2 separate regions of the Homo sapiens genome follow, and region 1 is linked to region 2. Evidence: promoter capture Hi-C in 16 types of primary human blood cells and fetal thymus (Javierre and others, 2016). All regions are on one chromosome and are shown on one strand. Each heading gives the region's core, a stretch centred on a gene start or on the middle of the fragment in contact. The rest is flanking DNA. Distances are from core to core; before and after follow the strand shown.

Region 1 (5,290 bases), core at 1,304-3,803, 390 kb after region 2:
CAGTGATCATCCTCCCCCTCGGCGGCCAGCTCCACTTCCCTCTGTGTTGTGGTTTCATTCTAGAGCTGTCTTTTGCCCAAGTGTGAAAGATGACCCCAGGAGCTATAAGCTTACATTTTCTTTAAAACTCCCTGTCTCAAACCAAGTGTCCATCGATGGACAAATGGATATACAAAATATGCTGTGTATACACACAGTGGAATATCACTCAGGCATGAAAGGGAATGAAGTTCTGATACTTACTACAACATGGATGAACTTTGAAAGCATTATGCTCAGTTAAATAAGCCAGACACAAGAGGACAAATGTTGTGTGATTCTACTTACATGAACTATTTAGAATAAGCAAAGTCATAGAGACAGAAAAGGTACTAATGTTACCAGGGGCTATGGGGAGGGCAGAGTGGGGAGTTATTGCTTAATGCTTAGATTTCTGTTTGGGGTTATGAAAAAGTTTTTGAAACAGATAGTGGTGTTCATTGCACGACACTGTGAATGTGATTAATGCCACTGAATCATACACTTAAAAATGGCTAAAATCATAAATTTTATGTTAGATATATTCTACCACAATAAAAAATTCTAGAACAAAAAATAAAACTTTTTATCTCAGGAAATGAGAGAGAATACTTCCCGGTAGTTGCAGAAAATTCTGGAAGGATTCTAGCCAGTTTGGCCTTGCTGTCTTACCCATAGAACTAATCACGCACCTCAGGGAGCGCCATCGTCACTCCTATTCAAACACCCAGAGATACCCCCTACAGCAGGAAGAAAAGCCTATTGAGGAGCCACTGTGAGGCAGTTTCTTATCCCTGTCTTGTGGGAGACTGACCTTCTCTTATCTATCTCCCGTTTGGTTTCCGTTGAGTGTAAGACTTCCCTCCTTTCTCCCCACCTTGCTCCCACTTAAGGTTCAGCTACAGTCTTTTGTGTAAGTCTGTACAATTTCTTGGCCGTGGTTTAAGGGTTGCTCCTCCCCAGCAGGGCAACCCATTGCCCATACTGTCAGTCATCTTGCTCTTCAAGGCTCAGTGTCTTCCTGTGTTGATCTTGCCTTTGGCATCTGTGCAAGTAATAAACTTCCTGAATCCATTGATGCTCATTGTCTCCTTACTAACTGAATCAATGGAAGTGTGACAAGCTAACAACTGTAGTAGTGACACTTGGGACCCTGTTAGCCACTAAGCCCCTTGGAAAGGCTTGACTGCTTAGCATGAAGTTCTTCCATAGGAAGGTACTCAGGGTAGATATGTTTAGCAGAGTTGGCCATTTATGTCTAGTGGAGTGAGTCAACTTACAGGGACTAAAGCTCCCCGATCATATGTCTTCCCATAAGGCCAAGCCCTGCACTAGGTTTCTCAGGACCAAGCTGAACCAGAGTTCTGAGTGGCTCTTCCTTGTCTGCCTTTCCTGGTCTGGGATGGAGTGCTGGGATCTCCCTCTGCTGCTCCCATCTCATTTATTGATATATACTCCCCAGTGGACCAACTTCCAGGCTGCCAATTCCTTCTAGTAGTGGACATATGCCTTCTCCCTCTGCTAAGGAATTATTGAAAGGTCAGTGAACGGGGTTCTAGAAGTTGATATTGGCAGTTCCCTCTCAGTCTGTGCCTTTAAGAAAAATTCAGCAGAAGCTATACTATTTGTTTCATTTTATGCCTTAAAACTAAAGATTCTTAAGGATGAATTCCGAAGTAATTAAGTAAGTGCTTATTGTTTTTATCTGTCTTTGCAAAACTAAATTAGTCCTACCTGTAGCTTGGTTTTGGAGAAACACATTTACTGTCATATCAGAGAGATTGTAGGCTATTCAGGGTAATAGAAATCTTAAAAGACAGCATGTTCCTACATCCTGGGAGAAATAGAAGGATAGAGAAACAGTTAGATGCTGTGAAAACAAACATGGATTGTGGAATCAAACAATATTGGGTTCTAATCCTGTTCCATCCTTTATTAGTGTTTGTATTAACTAGATTATAAGTTACATGGCCTGGCATTAAAGCTTCCCCTATTAGAAGACCAAGGAGAGAAGTTATAAAATAATGTTTGATGCTGCCCCCCAGTGGTTGATGTGGTGGCAGAAAATATGACAAAGATACAGGTTTTAGATCAAGCTTTATTTTCACAAAAATATTAATGCATATAATGCATATCTAGTTCTTCTTACTTCCCATTTGATTTCTCTATGAAGCATATAGTATTTACATATTTTCATTTATGCAATCTCATTTTAAAGTCCCCTTTAATACATGTATGAAAATATGTTAACGTTTTAAAAAAATTTCCTGTGGGATTGAGATGCATTTAAAATCTGTAAACGTCGGGTAGTGTTGCCTAGTGAGTCCTGGAGACCTTTGAAGTCACTGCCACTCTCACCATGGCTTGGGTCCAGATGCGCCACAGCCTCTTGGGGATGTAGGCCCTTGGAATCTTTTTAGTGCCGGACTCCCGGCCACAGGCAGTCCCGCGGCAGCAGGATAGCAGAACCTCTGGATGGACTCTTCCTGGGAAGTTTTGCTAATTTGCAGCAGCTGGACCATGTTCCTCATTAACATCCATCTGTCAGCTTAGTCGTCACATCATTTCACCGTGGTGGCAGGGATTCTATATAGAAAAAACACCTGGATCTCAGCCTTTCAATGGCTTCAAGACAACCAGAAGTGCCTGCTCTTGAGGCTAGTGGGCCTCTAGGCAAGATGTCCCTGCCCTTCAGGATATACCGCCGGGCACTCAGCTATGATGATACCCTCAAGGACCCTGCACCCATGACTCCTCCTCCATCAGACATGGGCAGCATCCCTTGGAAGCCAGTGATTTCAGAGCACAAGTATCAGCACCTCACCAAGGTGGAGGAAGGAGAGGCCAGTCTACCCTCCCCTGCCAGTCCCTGTCATCGGCCATTGACAGTGTGGACAAGCTCCCAGTGGTGAAGGCTAAAGCTACCCATGTCGTCATGAATTATGTGATCACAAAACAGACCCAGGAAAGCTTTCAGCATTTTGGGCAACAGGCAGGGCTGAGAGATCCTGGCTACACACCCACAAGGGTGTCACCACTCAGAAGACCAAGTACCTTAGAGTAGCAGAAGCACTCCACAAACTAAAGCTGCAGAGTGGAGAGATAACAAAAGAAGAGAGGCCACCTGCATCAGCCCTGTCCACCCCAAGCACCACTTCTCACTTTTCACCTAAGCAGAGACCCAGGGGCTGGTTCACTTCTGGTTCTTCCACAGCCTTACCTGGCCCAAATCCTAGCACCATGGACTCTGGAAGTGGGGATAAGGACAGAAACTTGTCAGATAAGTGGGGCCTCTTTGGACTGAGATCCCTTCAGAAGTATGATTCTGGAAGTTTTGCCACCCAGGCCTACCGAGGAGCCCAGAAGCCCTCTCCAATGGAACTGATCCGTGCCCAGGCCAACCGAATGGCTGAAGATCCAGCAGCCTTGAAGCCACCCAAGATGGACTTCCCAGTGACGGAAGGGAGGAAACAGCCACCACGGGCACATAATCTCAAACCCCGTGACTTGAATGTGCTCACACCCACTGGCTTCTAGAGCCCTTTCTTTCCAGGGATTCTGGTAAAGAAGGTTTCTTGCACTCCACTGCCCTTTTATCTTGGCTTTGACATAGGAAAGGTATATTTAAAAACTTAATCAGCTGGGCACAGTGGCTCACGCCTGTAATCCCAACACTTTGGGAGGCCAAGTTAGGTGGATCACCTGAGGTCAGGAGTTAAAGACCAGCCTGGCCAACACAATGAAACCCTGTCTCTACTAAAAATACAAAAATTAGCCGGGCATGGTGGTGGGTGCCTATAGTCCCAGCTACTTGGGAGGCTGAGGCAGGAGAATTGCCTGAACCCAAGAGGCAGAGGTTGCAGTGAGCCGAGATCACGCCATTACACTCCAGCCTGGGCGACAGAGTGAGACTCCGTCTCTAAATAAATAAATAAATAAAGTAAAAAACCTGTTAAATTGAGGCTAGAGCTGGAGATACAATTGGTTTTTGAGAAATATTGATACAAAGCTTGCCCCTGTTGTGTGGAAGAAGCCATTTTGTACTGCTTTAAAGTTAGACTAAATATTCTCAGCAGTGGTGTATGGGGACCTCATTACCTATTTTTTCATCATTTACCCTAGGTAAGAACTTCAATCACTGCTTACTAGGTAAAGAATGTTTGTGCTGTTCCAAAACCCAGGCTTCTTGATTCCTTACCACTATCCATGTGAGCATTGACAAATCATGGCGTAGAGGTGCTCACTGACTGGCTGAGACGACTCTGGCCCTGTTGATGGCTGGTGCTGTGCTCCAGCCTTATCAGTAAGGGGACCCAAGATTTGTTTGGGACCTGGGTATAGGTAAAACCAGACTTGGCAGGGACCCCTGTTTCTAGGCTGAACCTTGAGTCCCCCTGCTTTTTGGTAGACCTAATGGATCACTGTCCTGCAACCAGTTCTTCATGTGGGGCCTCTTAGGCCAGTGCCAGGGGAGGCATGCTTCTCTTTCTATGCCACAGAACAAACACTAGTCTAGCAGAGCCTTTCTTGCACTTTAAAGTGAGATTAATTTAGCTGCAATTTGGTTAAAAGCTTCCTAAGAGAGAAAATTCAGTCTACTGACTTGGTATAGGTAAATGGACTTAAACTTTTTTAAAGTAAAGGAGATGGTAGGTACAGTTAGATTATAGTCTTGAGGTTTATGTGGAGCCAGTGGTGTTACCTTATTTTGATTTCCTTGTTCAGGTCAGGGCCTGGAACGTCTGTGGGAGGAGGAGAATGAATTCAAAATTTTCTGTATGAAAGCATTTTTCACCAAAATGAGCCTCATCCCTTTATGCAATACATAACCTTACTGAGGGAGGGAAATAGGGAAACCACTTTTTTATTTCTCCTCACTGTGTACAAGTTCAGTTTTTGTCTTGAATACTGTCTCAAATACCCAATTTTTTGTTTTGGATAGTACCTTGTCTGTGTAAGAAGCTGGCCTTTCCATAGAGAGGCCCTGGAGTCTAAAATTATAAGAATTAATTTATTTGTGTCTTCTATTGTGATCTCTTGTTTTGACAATAAAAATCCTTACTACTTTCTCCAAAAAAAAAAAATCTGCAAATGTTGTAGGTTGGCAAAGATAATGTTTGACTGTGGTATTAATTTCTCTTTGCTTTGGTGTCCTAATATGTAAACTTAGGAAAACTTATTCCCACCTTACAGTGTTGCTGTGACAATGAATGACCCCAGGTGTCAAAAGGACCAGGCACCTAGAGGGTATCCAAAGAAAGGAAACTATAAT
Region 2 (5,061 bases), core at 2,213-4,712:
TTTCTTAATTGGTTAGCATTCTCCTTTGAAAACTGGCGCTAACCACTCTGCCTCGCAGCAAGATTTCCTGGAAAGCCAGTGGAAGGTTACGGAATGGAAAGAAAGCAGGAGGGCCCAGTCTGGGCCAGGAGTTGAGGATGCTGTCGAAGCAGGTAGCAGTAGCCATGGCTAGGTCACTCTTGGGACTGTTCTGGCACTCAGATTGCCTGTGCAACGGGGATGCATCTGACTTCCGAACATTCCTCCTGTTCTGTCAACTCCCAAGATTCAGAGTACTGGAGACAAGGATATTTAGCTAAATTTCTGGCATAGCTCTTCCTGCCCTCCTCCCCACACTGTATCAGGAGTGGGTAAAAGATATATCTGATCCCCTTGGTTTCCATAACAGGAGGTGGCAAGGGAAAGTAGGCACTGGGATCTGTCTTCTTGCCAAGATTACATAAAATGGAGAATTCCACCCGTAGGAACATGTGGTGCTTAGAGTGGAGGTGTGTGGATTCTGGGCAGTCAAAAAAAAAAAATCACAAATCTTTGCTAAACTTGTATAAGACTTCAAATTTCTCTCAATAGTCCCACGAGCAGTGTTGTGCTGGTTAATTTAACAACTGCCTCCCTGGTCCTGATTTGTAGCATTTGTCCATTTTCTCAAGGCAAACCCACTCATCATGGCTAATTTCAAGCTACCAACATGACAGCACTGAACACAGCTGGGAAGAGATGCGCAGTAACATACCACTATGCAGCATCTTCACCACACAGCTACAACAGATGTAAATAACCTCAAGTGCATAGACAGCAGTGAAATGTAGTACTGAGGTTGGTGCAAAAGCAATCACGGTTTTTGCTTTTAATGACAAAAACCGTGATTGCCTTTTTACCAACCTAATAAAATAATTAGAAAGTGATGAGTTTGGAGTATTAATTACCTTTGTTGTTAACATAATTGTAGGTTTATATAATTTAACTTTTAATAATAGCTGGAATTTAAAAATTGGTTTACAAAATTTAACAATCAGCTCCTGTGAGTCATTACGAGCCAGCTCCAGCATACCACTGCCTATGAAGTGGATCAATATAATGTTATTGAGAGAGAGACAAAGAGAAAATGAAAGAAAGATTCTTCTCACTTATGCACTAAGATGCTTGATGGAGAGGCCTAGGGCCTGGAAATTTTGTACAATAGCTTGTAGCATTGGGGGCCCTTCGTAATAGAATAATAACAGTATCTGACATTTATATAGCAAAACACATTTTTATTTAACATTTTCTCATTTTTGAGCCTCACAACAAATCCAAGGGAAAGATAAGCAAGGCATGTTACAGATGAGGGGACTGAGAGTCACTGAGCAAAAGTGACCACTGACAGAGCTGACACTAGAATCGGGTCCATGAGACTTGCAGTTCACAGACTGTTTTCATACCACCCTGTCTCTTTGAACCCCTGTCATCCCTGGAGCAGCCACTTATTACAATCTGGGATGTTGTCAGCCCTCATCCCCAGAATTCAGTCCAGGAGGCAATTCTGCATCTTCACAAATAAAGAATAAAATAAAGTTAGGCCTACAAATGGGCAATGATAGCTGGCTGTATTAACAGCTGTCATAGCCGACTCTAAGATGAGCCCCAGTGATCCTTACTCCTTGGCGTTCGTGTCCTTGGACTCCTACCCTGAATAGGGCTGACCTGTGTGACCAGTAGGATATTACAGATCTGATGGCACGTGACTTCTGAAGCTGGCGGTAAAGAGCACTGCAGCCTCTGCTTTGTTTTCTTTCATCACTTGTTCTGGGGGAATCCCGCAGCTGTATTGGAAGCACCCATGGAAGGGAACTGAGGCCTCCCACCAACAACCAGCCCTACCTGGCAAGCAGTGAGTGAGCCACCCTGGAAGTGGATCCTCCACCTCTACACAAGCATTCAGCTGAAGGCAGACCTGGCTGACATCTGAACGGAGCCTCATGAGTAACCCGACACCAGAATCACCCAGCCAGTGCTCCCACATTTCGGACCCACAGAAACTGTGAGAGATGATCAATGTTTATGCTGTTTGAAGCCACTAAATTTGGGGGTAATTTGTTCTGCAGTAATAGATACACTGAACAGCTTTTAAAGCTGCGCGATATGGGCTTTGGGTCACGTCAACCAGATACAGAAAGGCTTTAGGGACTCAAGAAACACTTTGAGTAAACTTGTTTTCCTCTTTTCACCAAATAAACTGAATTTGAGGCCAATATTTGAAATCTTTGTGCTATATAACTTCTGAAATACATTGTATTCTTAATGCGTTTCCAAGTGACCTGTTGTCCATAGAAAAGTACACTCAACACTGAATGTATCTGCTACTCTGAAGAGCAAGACAGCTCGAACTGGAATTCACTCAGACACCTCATAGCACGAAATCATCTCATAGCCTTTCAGACCCCATCTTCACTGCCACCTTTCATTCTTTTGGGTCTCTGGGCCATGACATCCCCTGTCCTTTCGGAAAGCAGGAACGGAGGGATATAACGAAATAAATTAATTGGGAACGCAGCGGAGCTAGGGACCCTACTGGATGTTGGGGGTGGAACTTTTAAATCATTTACAAAACACCAGTCCCGACCTCCCCTGGAAGACTGAGCTGTTACCTCTTCTGGCGTCCGTGCCCGCGGAAGTTCGCTCCTAGGGAAGTCGCTCGCGTCCTCAAGAGCACCTGAGAGGATCTCGGCGAAGCGGAAGGCTTTGGTGCCAGCTGGGAGAGTCTGCGCCGGATTTCCTCAGCTCCTTGGCGCGTTTCCTCGGAGCCGGGGGAGGCAAAGCACGGACCCCGGAGTCGGCGCCCATAGCGGGACGCCCTCGCGAGGGGCGGGAGTGCGGGAGGTGGGTGTGCGGGCGGCGCGCTCGCCCTCCAGCTGCAGCCCGCGCCGAGCGCGCAGGGCCAGCGAGCGCCGGCGCCTCCAGCATGGAGTGGGAACTCAACTTGCTGCTCTACCTGGCGCTCTTCTTCTTCCTGCTCTTCTTACTTTTCCTCCTGCTCTTCGTGGTCATCAAGCAGCTGAAGAACTCCGTGGCCAACACGGCCGGGGCGCTCCAGCCCGGGCGCCTCTCGGTGCACCGCGAGCCTTGGGGCTTCTCCCGAGAGCAAGCGGTGTGACCCGAGTGCGGGCACTGGCGGGAGGGCACCGAGCTGCGCGGGCGCTGGGCTGGGTCTCCGCCTCGATTCTCCGTCCTCGCGGCCTCCCAGCTTCCAGGTGCGGGGCTCGGCGGCTCTGACGGGTCCGTTCCGGCGTGAGGCGCAGGGACCCGCGTCTCCGCTCCTGTGGGAGGCCCGGGGCTCGCAGCGCGTTCGGGTGCCAGGGACGGTGGGTGTATGGGGTCTGGGCTGGCGCTGTGCTCTTCGAGAGGGACCCTAAGCTGTTCCAGGGCTGGGAGAGATGGCGAAAAGAGAATTCGCCCTTTGGAGCCGGAATGACTTTGGACAACTGCAAGCTCTTTTCTGTCCAACTGCATTTTAGTTATACCCAAGGAGTGGAAAAGTAAATTATTCGGATAATGCAGTTTAGCCACTTTCGAACAAAATCGCAGGTTAACCTGAATATCCACATTTTTGAGAAAGACTGTGTGGGCTTTGGGACGGGTGGCAGGAGGAAACGGGGCGCACTTAAAGTATTTTAAATATTGCTTTAAATATTTTTGCGCTTTGAGAGATGGTAAATGGGGTTCGTCTGGTGGTGCTGGGGTGGGGCGTGGGGGAGAGAAGATTCAGTCGTCCATTTGGAGGGAGGAATCCCTTCCTCCCGGTGATCCTTACTCATATTCTAGCCACCAACCACGGTTAGTGCTTGCGGATTGCCGTGCAGGGTAGGTTTCGAATCTGGGACAGCGGATGGTGAACGTTACAGTGAGAGTCATTTGGAAGATGCCTTAGGGTTGGCCGGTACGTGACCTTTTGGGTGATGGCATGGAGGGCCAGCTAAAAGAGGTACTGTTTGCATAGTGTAGGGAAACAGGAAAAAGGACGGAGAGGCGGGTCTGTGGTTTCAGGTTAAATTACTAGAGCTTTTGCAGAAGATGGGCGGGCAGGAGCAAACTCGAGTACCAGTATGCCCTAAGTACCCTCTCGCTAATGTTAGTTTGGGAAATATCTTCATCCTTCAGTAGCTTTTCCCTAGATTTATGTCATCTCTCTTTCTAGAGCCGAGCTGCTGCCCTTGACTGGTGCTCAGGGGACCACAGCTGCAATGACAGTTTGGGCCTGCAAAAAGAAGGCTGGAACAACGGGAGATGGAAGCTTTCTGCAAATGGTAAGTTGGGATGACGCATGGTTTCACGTTGGCCTTAGTTATGACTAAACTTCTAAAGATCCAGGGCCTAAAAACATGTTGGTTCAGGATGGGGGAAATGGGTACAAGGAAGGAAAGGGCACTCTCCCACTCAAATCTGGTGAGCTTCTACCAGATCCACAAAGCCAAACTGACTCCTAACTCATTGCAAGAATCAGTGTCTTAGTAGAGGATTGTGGAAATTTGAATGAGATGTCAGGAGTGTTTGCACTTTTAATAATCATTCGGCCCTTTTGAAAAACAGTGCGGGGGTTCATGGGGTGAAATATGTGATGCAGATATACTCAATCTTCAGTAAGGGAAGATTTGGGTTTAGTCATGTCAGTGTGGGATAAGCTAAGTCATAACTATAGTATTGAAAATACTAATTTTAGACACAAAGACCATATAGAGAGGCTAAAAACAATGAAATACTAAAGTTTGCCTAAGTTGATAATATAAAAGTGAAGTGTAAGACAATTATTTTAATGCTTCAAAGGAAAAATAGTCTCAGGTGAATAATTTTGGCCCAAGACATTAGATAATTTCCCACTTTCTATTTCACTCTCCCCAAATAGGCCTGTTCTTAATGAAGTAAGAGGTTTACTTTAATTATTATGGTATGAGCAAATCCTCACCTCTTTATCAGAGTTATGGTAAGACTTGATTTGAATTCCCAGTTTGAACTCCCTGAATCAACTGCAGTGATTCTGTATTGTGCTTTGAACAATAGTTCTCTAATTGGTTGATATCTCTGCAG

The links. The method cuts DNA at HindIII sites, captures the fragments that hold promoters and counts their contacts. A CHiCAGO score of 5 or more calls a contact.
Region 1: a contact is called between a fragment that was not itself captured here and the fragment with the promoter of PP12613 in region 2, in 4 of 17 cell types (M1 macrophages, M2 macrophages, endothelial precursors and 1 more). The highest score is 8.2, in M1 macrophages.

The regions. Positions count from the first base shown.
Region 1 is chr4:121,367,695-121,372,984 of GRCh38, reverse strand. The region is part of intron 1 of QRFPR (pyroglutamylated RFamide peptide receptor); the gene reads left to right. It also overlaps the pseudogene KIAA1191P1. Among named protein-coding and RNA genes, the nearest start is that of QRFPR, 11 kb to the left of the region's middle. The HindIII fragment of the contact is 874 bases long and covers 2,117-2,990 here.
Region 2 is chr4:121,762,986-121,768,046 of GRCh38, reverse strand. It overlaps PP12613 (a long non-coding RNA gene), which reads right to left and starts at 3,462. Exons shown (of 1, transcript NR_024365.1): 1 at 1,239-3,462. It overlaps SMIM43 (small integral membrane protein 43), which reads left to right and starts at 2,883. Exons shown (of 6, transcript NM_001384332.1): 1 at 2,883-3,230; 2 at 4,175-4,283. The coding sequence starts at 2,942. The coding sequence ends at 3,133. The HindIII fragment of the contact is 5,910 bases long and covers 1-4,272 here.